Linked DNA regions of Homo sapiens: regions 1 and 2 are each linked to region 3. The links are contacts of gene promoters, found by promoter capture Hi-C in blood cells and fetal thymus (Javierre and others, 2016). All regions are on one chromosome and are shown on one strand. Each heading gives the region's core, a stretch centred on a gene start or on the middle of the fragment in contact. The rest is flanking DNA. Distances are from core to core; before and after follow the strand shown. Region 1 overlaps LMO2 (LIM domain only 2). Region 2 holds the start of CD44-AS1 (CD44 antisense RNA 1). Region 3 holds the start of CAT (catalase).

Evidence for each region. The method cuts DNA at HindIII sites, captures the fragments that hold promoters and counts their contacts. A CHiCAGO score of 5 or more calls a contact.
Region 1: a contact is called between a fragment that was not itself captured here and the fragment with the promoter of CAT in region 3, in 1 of 17 cell types (fetal thymus). The highest score is 5.3, in fetal thymus.
Region 2: a contact is called between the fragment with the promoter of CD44-AS1 here and the fragment with the promoter of CAT in region 3, in 1 of 17 cell types (neutrophils). The highest score is 6.9, in neutrophils.

What each region holds. Positions count from the first base shown.
Region 1 is chr11:33,859,552-33,862,361 of GRCh38, reverse strand. LMO2 (LIM domain only 2) reads left to right here. Exons shown (of 6, transcript NM_005574.4): 6 at 2,787-2,810. Among named protein-coding and RNA genes, the nearest start is that of LMO2, 31 kb to the left of the region's middle. The HindIII fragment of the contact is 4,505 bases long and covers 1-2,810 here.
Region 2 is chr11:35,213,631-35,216,330 of GRCh38, reverse strand. CD44-AS1 (CD44 antisense RNA 1) reads left to right here and starts at 1,321. Exons shown (of 2, transcript NR_174965.1): 1 at 1,321-1,500. CD44 (CD44 molecule (IN blood group)) reads right to left here. Exons shown (of 18, transcript NM_000610.4): 15 at 1,417-1,479. RefSeq lists an enhancer at 892-2,091. The HindIII fragment of the contact is 2,794 bases long and covers 1-2,206 here.
Region 3 is chr11:34,437,346-34,440,232 of GRCh38, reverse strand. It overlaps CAT (catalase), which reads right to left and starts at 1,299. Exons shown (of 13, transcript NM_001752.4): 1 at 1,154-1,299. The coding sequence starts at 1,219. RefSeq lists enhancers at 967-1,266, 1,437-1,486. The HindIII fragment of the contact is 7,598 bases long and covers 1-2,091 here.

The DNA of each region.
Region 1 (2,810 bases), core at 16-2,515, 580 kb after region 3:
TTTAACAGCCAGCACCTGAATCTGTTAGAGCCAGAAGTATGCCTGCCCCAACTAGACCCCCAACGGACCTTAACCAGTGACAGACATGGTGGGAGTACCAAGCCCCGCAGCCTTGCCTGGAGCCAGGCATAACTTATATTCCAGGGTCCCTCCCCTCTGAGGGACTTTGCCTGAGGATACAACTTGGCTTGGCTTCCTCCCCTTCCCTCCAGCCTCCCCTGCTGCCTTCCAGGTTTTTCCTGAGAATGCCTCATTCATAAATCACTGGCACATCAATCCTTGCCTCAGGGGCTGCTTCTGGGATATCCAGCCTAAGATACCAATTCTTGGTGCCAGAGGTTAATGCTCAAGTTAGGTGTCAAGTCCCGGCTTATTTTTTACTAATATTAGAATCTCCGAATCCCAGAGCTGGAAGGGGCTACAGAGACCTTCTTTTTCAGTTCCCTTGCTTTATGGCTTAAGTCACAGAAGCCTGTACAGGGGACTCCATTTGCTCAGGTCACCTGGCAAGTTAGAGGTCATGCTGGGACCTGAACTTGTCTCCCACATATTCGTCCTTTGTCCTTCCCTTCATAGCTGCCTGATGTGGGTTGTAATTTACCCCCTGACTTCCCTTTAATAAGCTCCCTCCTTCCTTAAGGATCGCACACCCCAGGCAGTTGGATTCATTCCATGCACACTGTTTTCTCAGTCGTTCATCCTTGCTCAGGCCCAAACTTAACTTACAGAGCAGTCAGGAAACCAGAACTGTCTTTCCACTCTGTGACCTCCAATGTGGCGGTTACCTGCAGCTCCACCATCTGCTACGTTGGGATAAAATGTTCTCCCCCCAGTAATGAGTTTGCTCCCAGGCGGTGCTTTGAAAACACTCAGAGATCTTCAAATGGAAAGCAGGATTCAGAGGCAAATTAGCTGGCCCTGGCCCGAACAATGAGCTCTCCACTCACAGACCACCTCTTGTCAATTCCATTAATCTCGCCCAAATATTGCAAAATGTGTCAACTGCCCTTAGGTCCCCTACAACCTCTCAGAATGTACCCACTGATTCTCTGATATCCTGAAATCAACCAGAACTTCCAATAAGAGCAAGCATTCACCTAAAACTGTCCTAAAGGTTTTATGTAGAAACCACCTGCTAACATGCTATGTTTTCAGCCACGAGTGAAAATTACTTCCTGCAGCAAGACTGGCACAGCTGGGAATACACCCAAGATGTGTTAAAACATAACCAGCGTTGGCTTAGCCCTTGACCATGGGTGCCCTGACATGCTTCGTTTGGTTGTTTTAACAGCTGAGTGAGGTGGAGCCTATGATGGCTGCCATTTCACTGAGGCTCAGAGAATCAGAGGTCTCTCCAGGGTCACTCAGGGCTGGTCCGGGACATTGAAGCTGGGTCTTCTCTGCTTCCGGTACTTGTGTTACTGCACTTTTGCTGTTGATTCTCAAATGTCAGCCTGCAACCAGTCCCCCGGAAGTGTTCATTAACGCACAGACTGCTGGGCCTTCTCCCCAGGGTGTCTCAGTTGGGTAGGGAAGGAGGAGGGCTGAGAATTTGTTTTTTTGTTTGTTTGTTTAGTTTTTGCTTTTCTTTTGAGTCAAGGTATGGCTCTGTGGCCCAGGCTGGAGTGCAGTGGCATGATCTCGGCTCACTGCAACCTCCACCTCCCGGGCTAAAGCCATCCTCCCACCTCAGCCTCCCAAGTATTAATAGCTGAGACTAGAGGCATGCACCACCGCACCCGGCTAATTTTTGTATTTTTTGTAAAGACACAGTTTCACCATGTTGCCCAGGGTGGTCTCGAACTTGTGAGCTCAAGTGATTTGCCTGCCTCAGCCTCCCAAAGTGTTGGGATTACAGGTGTGAGCCACTGCGCCCAGCCTGAGAATTTGTATTTCTGTCAGGTTCCCAGGCAGTGCTGATGTCGCTGGTCCCAGGACCAACACTTTGAGAACCACTGCACTGAGCCCTGCCATGTTCTGTCTCCCACCTTGACACTGAATACTGCCTGAAATAAGTGACTGATCAACTGAGGCTTGGGAGAGTCTTGATTTAAATGTCAGAAAAGAAGTTTCCCTTTTGATTCATGCCAGTGGGCAGCGAGGGCCATGAATTAAGATCCTCCCTTCATGGTGGAGAGATGCTGTTGGTCCTCCATATCTCAGAGGCACGATTAGCTGCACCGCGTGTTTTCTGTGGAACTCCCTGTCTCCCAGCAGCTGGGGCCCCAGCGAATAATCAGGGGGAGATGTGCTTTGCAGCTTATGGAGGTATTCAAGGCCAGCTCTCCCCATGGGTAGAATCAGTGGCTGTTGACATGATAGAGTTTGGGAGCCTCAGAAGAATGCCCGTTTTATTGCATTCCTGGTCAGTACCCTCTCAAAGGGGCCCCTAGGGTCTCTCTCCAGCTGCTCTTCTGAAATGAGGGTTCCCCTGGGAGGGGACAGGTAATACTTGCCTAACTCCTTATGATAGATCACATCAGCTGAGAGCCTTGCCCACAGAGGAGGAGCCAGGGGGCAGCCTAGGGGAATGATGAGCGGTTGCTGCAGACAAGGAGAGGGCTCAGAAAAGGGAGGAGTTATGCCAGATCCAAATGCCAGTTTCATCTGAGTTCCCTCTGCCTGCTGGTGAAGACTGCACTAGCCGGCCCTCCTTCTGGAGCCGACCTTCCCTGGCTTCCTGACATCCTGAAAGTTCGGCCTCCTTTCTAGGGCTCATCCCCGAGCCCTGTCTTCCAGGATTGTCCCTTTCACTGTCTTCTTAGCTTTTCTTTCTTTTGCCCCAGGCTTTTTGGGCAAGACGGTCTCTG
Region 2 (2,700 bases), core at 72-2,571, 780 kb before region 3:
GATGTTCAGGGAGACCACAGTAAGGCAGCACTGGCAGAACCTCCCAGTAGCCCAGCAGTAGAAGTAATTAGTAAACCTACCTCATGTCAGACTTTTGCAGTCTGGGGTAAGGTTTGTAGGGGTGTGATCTGAATCACAACAAACAGGAGTCTATTTAAGAATTCATGCCTGGGAGTAATTATGGTCATTATGGAATGCCTTCTCCAGACTGTGCTATGAGAAGTAATACAAGGCCCTCCAGGCTTGAAAGGTGGCTCCATCACTCTCTGGTCCTGTCAACTCTGCCAAGTTACTTACCTTCTCTGAGCCTTAGTTTCCTCATCTGTAACATGGGGATAATAATAGTACTTACCTATGTCACAGAGTTTATAGGATGACTGAATGAGTTCATACTAGATAAACTCTATGAATTTGCTGATATTAACCTGTTTTTTTGTTTTTTGTTTTTTGGTTTTTTTTGAGACAGAGTCTTGCTCTGTCACCCAGGCTGGAGTGCAGTGGTGCAATCTTGGCTCACTGCAAACTCTGCCTGCCAGGTCCGAGCAATTCTCCTGCCTCAGCCTCCTGAGTAGCTGGGATTACAGGTGCGCAGGACCACGCCCGGCTAATTTTTGTATTTTTAGTAGAGACAGGGTTGGCCAGGCTGGTCTCGAACTCCTGACCTCGTGATCCACCTGCCTCGGCCTCCTAAAGTGCTGGGATTACAGGTGTGAGCCACCGTGCCTGGCCGATATTGACCTGTTCTTGACCTACAATAATGGCAGTTCCATTTGGCCCAACCTAATACATGTAAAGTGTTTAGAAAGATGCTGCTGGCACACAGTAAATTCCCAACAAATACCAGTGATGATATCATGTGCCAGGATTATGCTAAATGCTTTACATGTATTCTATCATTTAGTCTTTGAAACAATGTCCTGTGACAATTGTTATTATTCCAAGTTTATTAGTTGAGAAATGTTGTCTCAGACCCTTTAAAGCATCTTGCTCAGTTAATATGCGGAGGGCTGGAATCGAACTCAGGCCATTTTTGCTACAAAGCTCAAGCTCTTAATCACTCTGGTGTAGTGCAAGGTTAAATTGGGACACTGCTTGAATTCTTCCTGAGGCTTTCAGATGCAAGGCTTTCCTCCAGAGCAGTAGCTCTCAAAGTGCAATCCCTGTCCCAGCAGTGTCAGTATTACCAGGGAACTGATTAGAAATGCAAATGCTTGGGCTCCACCCCAGACCTACTGAATCAGGAACCTTAAGGGTGGGGTCCAGCATTGTGGTTTAATAAGCCCTCCCTGCAATTGTGATGTATGCTAAGAAGGTTTGAGAACCACTTCTCTGGAGACACTGACTCATACTTCGTTGGTAGTCATCATTAGGCTCAATGATTATAACAGTAAATGACTAAAGCAGTTTTGAACTCACCATCTGATTCAGATCCATGAGTGGTATGGGACCCCCCACTGGGGTGGAATGTGTCTTGGTCTCCTGTAATGAGCAATCAGGAAGGTCAGTACTGCATGTTTTCACTTACACTCCCATCTGCATTTCTTTACCTTTGCATTCTTATACAGCCTATCACAAAGTTTAGTCTTTTTAAGGTATTCCAAAAAATGATGGCAAAACAGCCTTGAATGGGTCCACAATGTTAATTACCGTTCATTGCTTAATCCACTGATAAATGAGCTAGAACTTTAATAAGAATTAAGGAAACTGGGGCAGCAAAGGCTAAGAAGGATGACCACAGGAAGTTTTGTAGAAACTTTGTTTTGGTAGAAATCCAAGAACTGTGGTAAGGAACATGCTAACAAAAATATTGTGATATCTTTGCAGGTATGAGGTTGAGACTAGACATTGTACATTTTAAATAAGGACAATATGAATTGGATTATGAGAAACATAATCACTGCAAATGGGCATACTCTGGCTTAGGGCATGAAACAGAGATTTCTTGGCGGCAGGAAATTAGTATGCAATAAGGAATCTTGGGATTGAATGATGTAAAGATTCAAAGAGAAAGGTCAACTACTTATTTTCAAAAAAAATTGAAAATAAGTAAAAAAGGAAATGGTGAGATGATAGCTAACATTAATAATGTGTATTGGAATATGGGTATTATAGTAAGTTTAAAATAATTTTTTAAAGTTAAATCTGTAGTTTCAACATGACTAGTTAATATAATCCTAGCTTCTCAAACATCTATCACCAGAAAGCTTTAGATTAAGACAACCTCATGAATTGCTAGAATCTAAATCCATAGGTCAAATCTTGAATGCAGCATATTAAAACTCTCTCCCCCACCCACATTTTTCAAAAGCATACTGGAATCTTTTTTTTTTTTTAATCACAGGACAATGCTTACATAAAATGGCTACAGTTATCCATTATGAAGGCACCTTATAAGGAATCTATAGTAACCTGATCGTCACCATTTCCTTGATTAGAGAAGGTGGAAGCGGGTGACACTTAGTCACCTGTGTAACTATATTGAAGAGACAGATTGCTTTGTTCCTTGGCTGATGGTTAAAACAAATGAAAACAACATTTGCTGAAATGCCACACCAATACTCCCACTACCAAAATCACCATGACCGTCACCATCCCATCACCATCATTATCACCATCACCATCACCATCACCACCACCACCACTGCCACTATGATTCTAAATGCTTCAGTTCTTTTTTGGGGGACGGAGCCTCGTTCTGTC
Region 3 (2,887 bases), core at 50-2,549:
AACCATTAAAGCAATCCATGAGCACTTAGCATTAATACCCCAGTTCACGAACCTGAGTTTTGAGCAAGAGCACTAGGCAGAATAGGGAAAACAGGGCTGCAGTCCTCTGTCTACCATTAACCAGCAGCCAGGGAACAGGGCAAGACCTTTAGACTCCCTGGGCCAATCTGCCAACAGTAGACTCAGACCAGATGTGGTCTCATCTAATCCAACCTCCTCATAGATGCCCTCTGAGACTCTGCAGCCGTGGGCACAGGCCAGGAATGCCTCCCCCACCACCAAGTTAAAATCCTACTCATTTAAAAAAATTCCTGTTCAAATGTCACCTGCTTTGTCCGGCCCACCTGGTCACTCCCTCTACATTCTACAGATAACCTCTATTAGAGCCCTCACCACGCTGGAGTGTAATCATCTGTTTATGTGTCTCGTCTCCCAGACTAGACTCTCAGCTTCTCAAGGGTGTTGTTCTTGCCGCACTGGAATTTGTACACCTTGCCCCGAACAGTGCCTAGCACCTACAGGTGCTCAAAGAATAGAATAAACGCATTAATCAATCCCTAATGTCACCCCCCAGCTCTAAAATGCTAGGCTTGACATTTTGAAGTGCAAATGAGACAATGAATGTAAAAGTTCTTTTATTTAGTCGTTTAATAATGTGCATAGTACGTACCAGTCACTGTGACTGGTGCTGGAGACCTCAAGATTGTAAAACACAATCCCTGCCCTGCTGGGACCCCACAACTATGAAAGCGTGTAAACAGTATTTCAAGAAGGGCACCATTAGAGCCTGGTTCCACTTCTCCCCTCACTGACTTCCTTGCAGCTGCAGCTCTCTGCCTCTTTCCCCATGAGCCCTCAATCTGTCCTCAAGCTGCGACCTCTGTCCCAGTTGGCAAAAGTGCAAAATTCTGAAGCAACCACCCGAGCCTGTCGCGGACAACAAAGCCTGCAGTCCCGCGCCCCACTACCCGGACCCCCCTCCCCTGCTTCGGCGAATGTAAAAGTCCGTCTGCACCGAAGGGGATCCCCCCTGCCCAGTGAGCCGCGGTACAGTCCCTCCAAGCGCCGCCCCGGGGGAAGCCGGGCCTTTACTTGCCGACGCCCCCGCTTTCTAAACGGACCTTCGGGCCCGCTCGGGGAGCACAGAGTGTACCTGCGCGGCCCGCTGCTCCTTCCAGTGCTGCATCTGGTCGCTGGCGGGATCCCGGCTGTCAGCCATAGCGTGCGGTTTGCTGTGCAGAACACTGCAGGAGGCCTCGGCTCGTGGGTCTCCACCCTCAGCAGGCAAATCTGCCTGTTGCCCCGAGTCCGTGGCGACTTCAGGCTCAGCCAATCAGCACCACCCCCTCGTCCCGCCCCCTCGGGAGGACTGCCTTCTGATTGGCTGCTCGGCGCTAGGCAGGCCAAGATTGGAAGCCCAATGGGCTCGGAGCAGGGCTCTCCGAAGGAGGCCTGAAGACCGGAGATACCCAGGAGGGTGCGGAAAGGAAGGGTCCCGCTCTGGCCCAGCAATTGGAGAGCCTCGCCCCGCCGGCCCGGGGTGCCCGGGATAGCCGAACCCAGGGCGGGGCTCCCGGTTATCAGCATCCTTCAGGCCGCCCTGGGACGCGGCCGTTGGTGGCCTGCCAGTTTTGCAGACGGAATACTTAGACCCTGCTGGGTGGGGCCTTGCGCTCCATAGCTATGCTTTCTCAGCTCTTAAAAAGTCAGCAATCCTGGGTTAAATTACTCTGTACAAAATTAAATTTTGCCATACGCTAATGTAAGTATTATTTGCAACCAAAGGATGGATGGATGCTTTTCTTTTTCTTTCTTAGCTCTTCTTAACTTATTCGTGGATTATCACTTACTAGACTAGTATACTAATTATTTAATATAAAAACACTCTGAAACGTTTATCTCCGTACAGATGGGTGTTGATTTCCTCCTTTACCAGAGAAAAACAACTTAACTTAGATGGGAAAAATGTATTCCCTTGTGATGGGAAAAATGTATTCAACTCTGGTACACTGCCAAATTGGCTTCTTTAAACACTGGAGAAATCTGCTTCCCCAAATTTTACCCCCAGGTAAGCAGGAATTTTGAAAAGCTTTGTGTCTTTAAAAAGCTATGTTGAAGAGTAAAATACTTAGTAATATATAGTACAATATTTAGTAAGTTACTGACTAGTTTGTCATTGTAATCAAAGAGTTTGAATGATTTCTACACCTCCTCAGGTGCTAGGATTTATCTTTAAGCACCTTAATATATATACATAGTATATACCATCATCTTCAAATTAAAAGTTATCAGCTTTTAATTTTTTCCAGTACAACTACATATAATGGGTGGATATATAATAGTGGAAACTTCACATGTTGTTCTTGATCTTACAAAAGTATGATAAGAATCTTGGGCATAAAAGTGGAACTTTAGCAGTTCATTGGAAAAGAAAGCCACAAATTGATCTTTAGCACCCTATACTTTTCCTATATTAAAAACAATTATAAAGATGCTGTTGGCTGTGTAATTTGGTGTCTTTTTCTACCTGCCCGATCCATACTGCCAAGACTGTAAACTCCATGTGGGTCAGGATCCTCCCATCCATAATTTATTGAGCACTTACTATATACCAGGGACTATTCTCAGCTTTTTGTATATTTGCTTAGTTAACCCTCCCAACAACCCTATGAGTTAGATACTAATATTATCTTCATTTTACAGATTAGGAAACAGAGGTATAGGGAGGTTAAATAACTTGCCCAAAGTTACACAGCTATTAAGGGATAGTCAGGATTCTAGCTTCAGCTGTTCATCTCCAAAGTCCACAGTTTGTTGAATAAATAAATGTTGAAATAATCGAGCAAATCATCTTCTTAACTAACCAACACAAATATCAACAAAATAA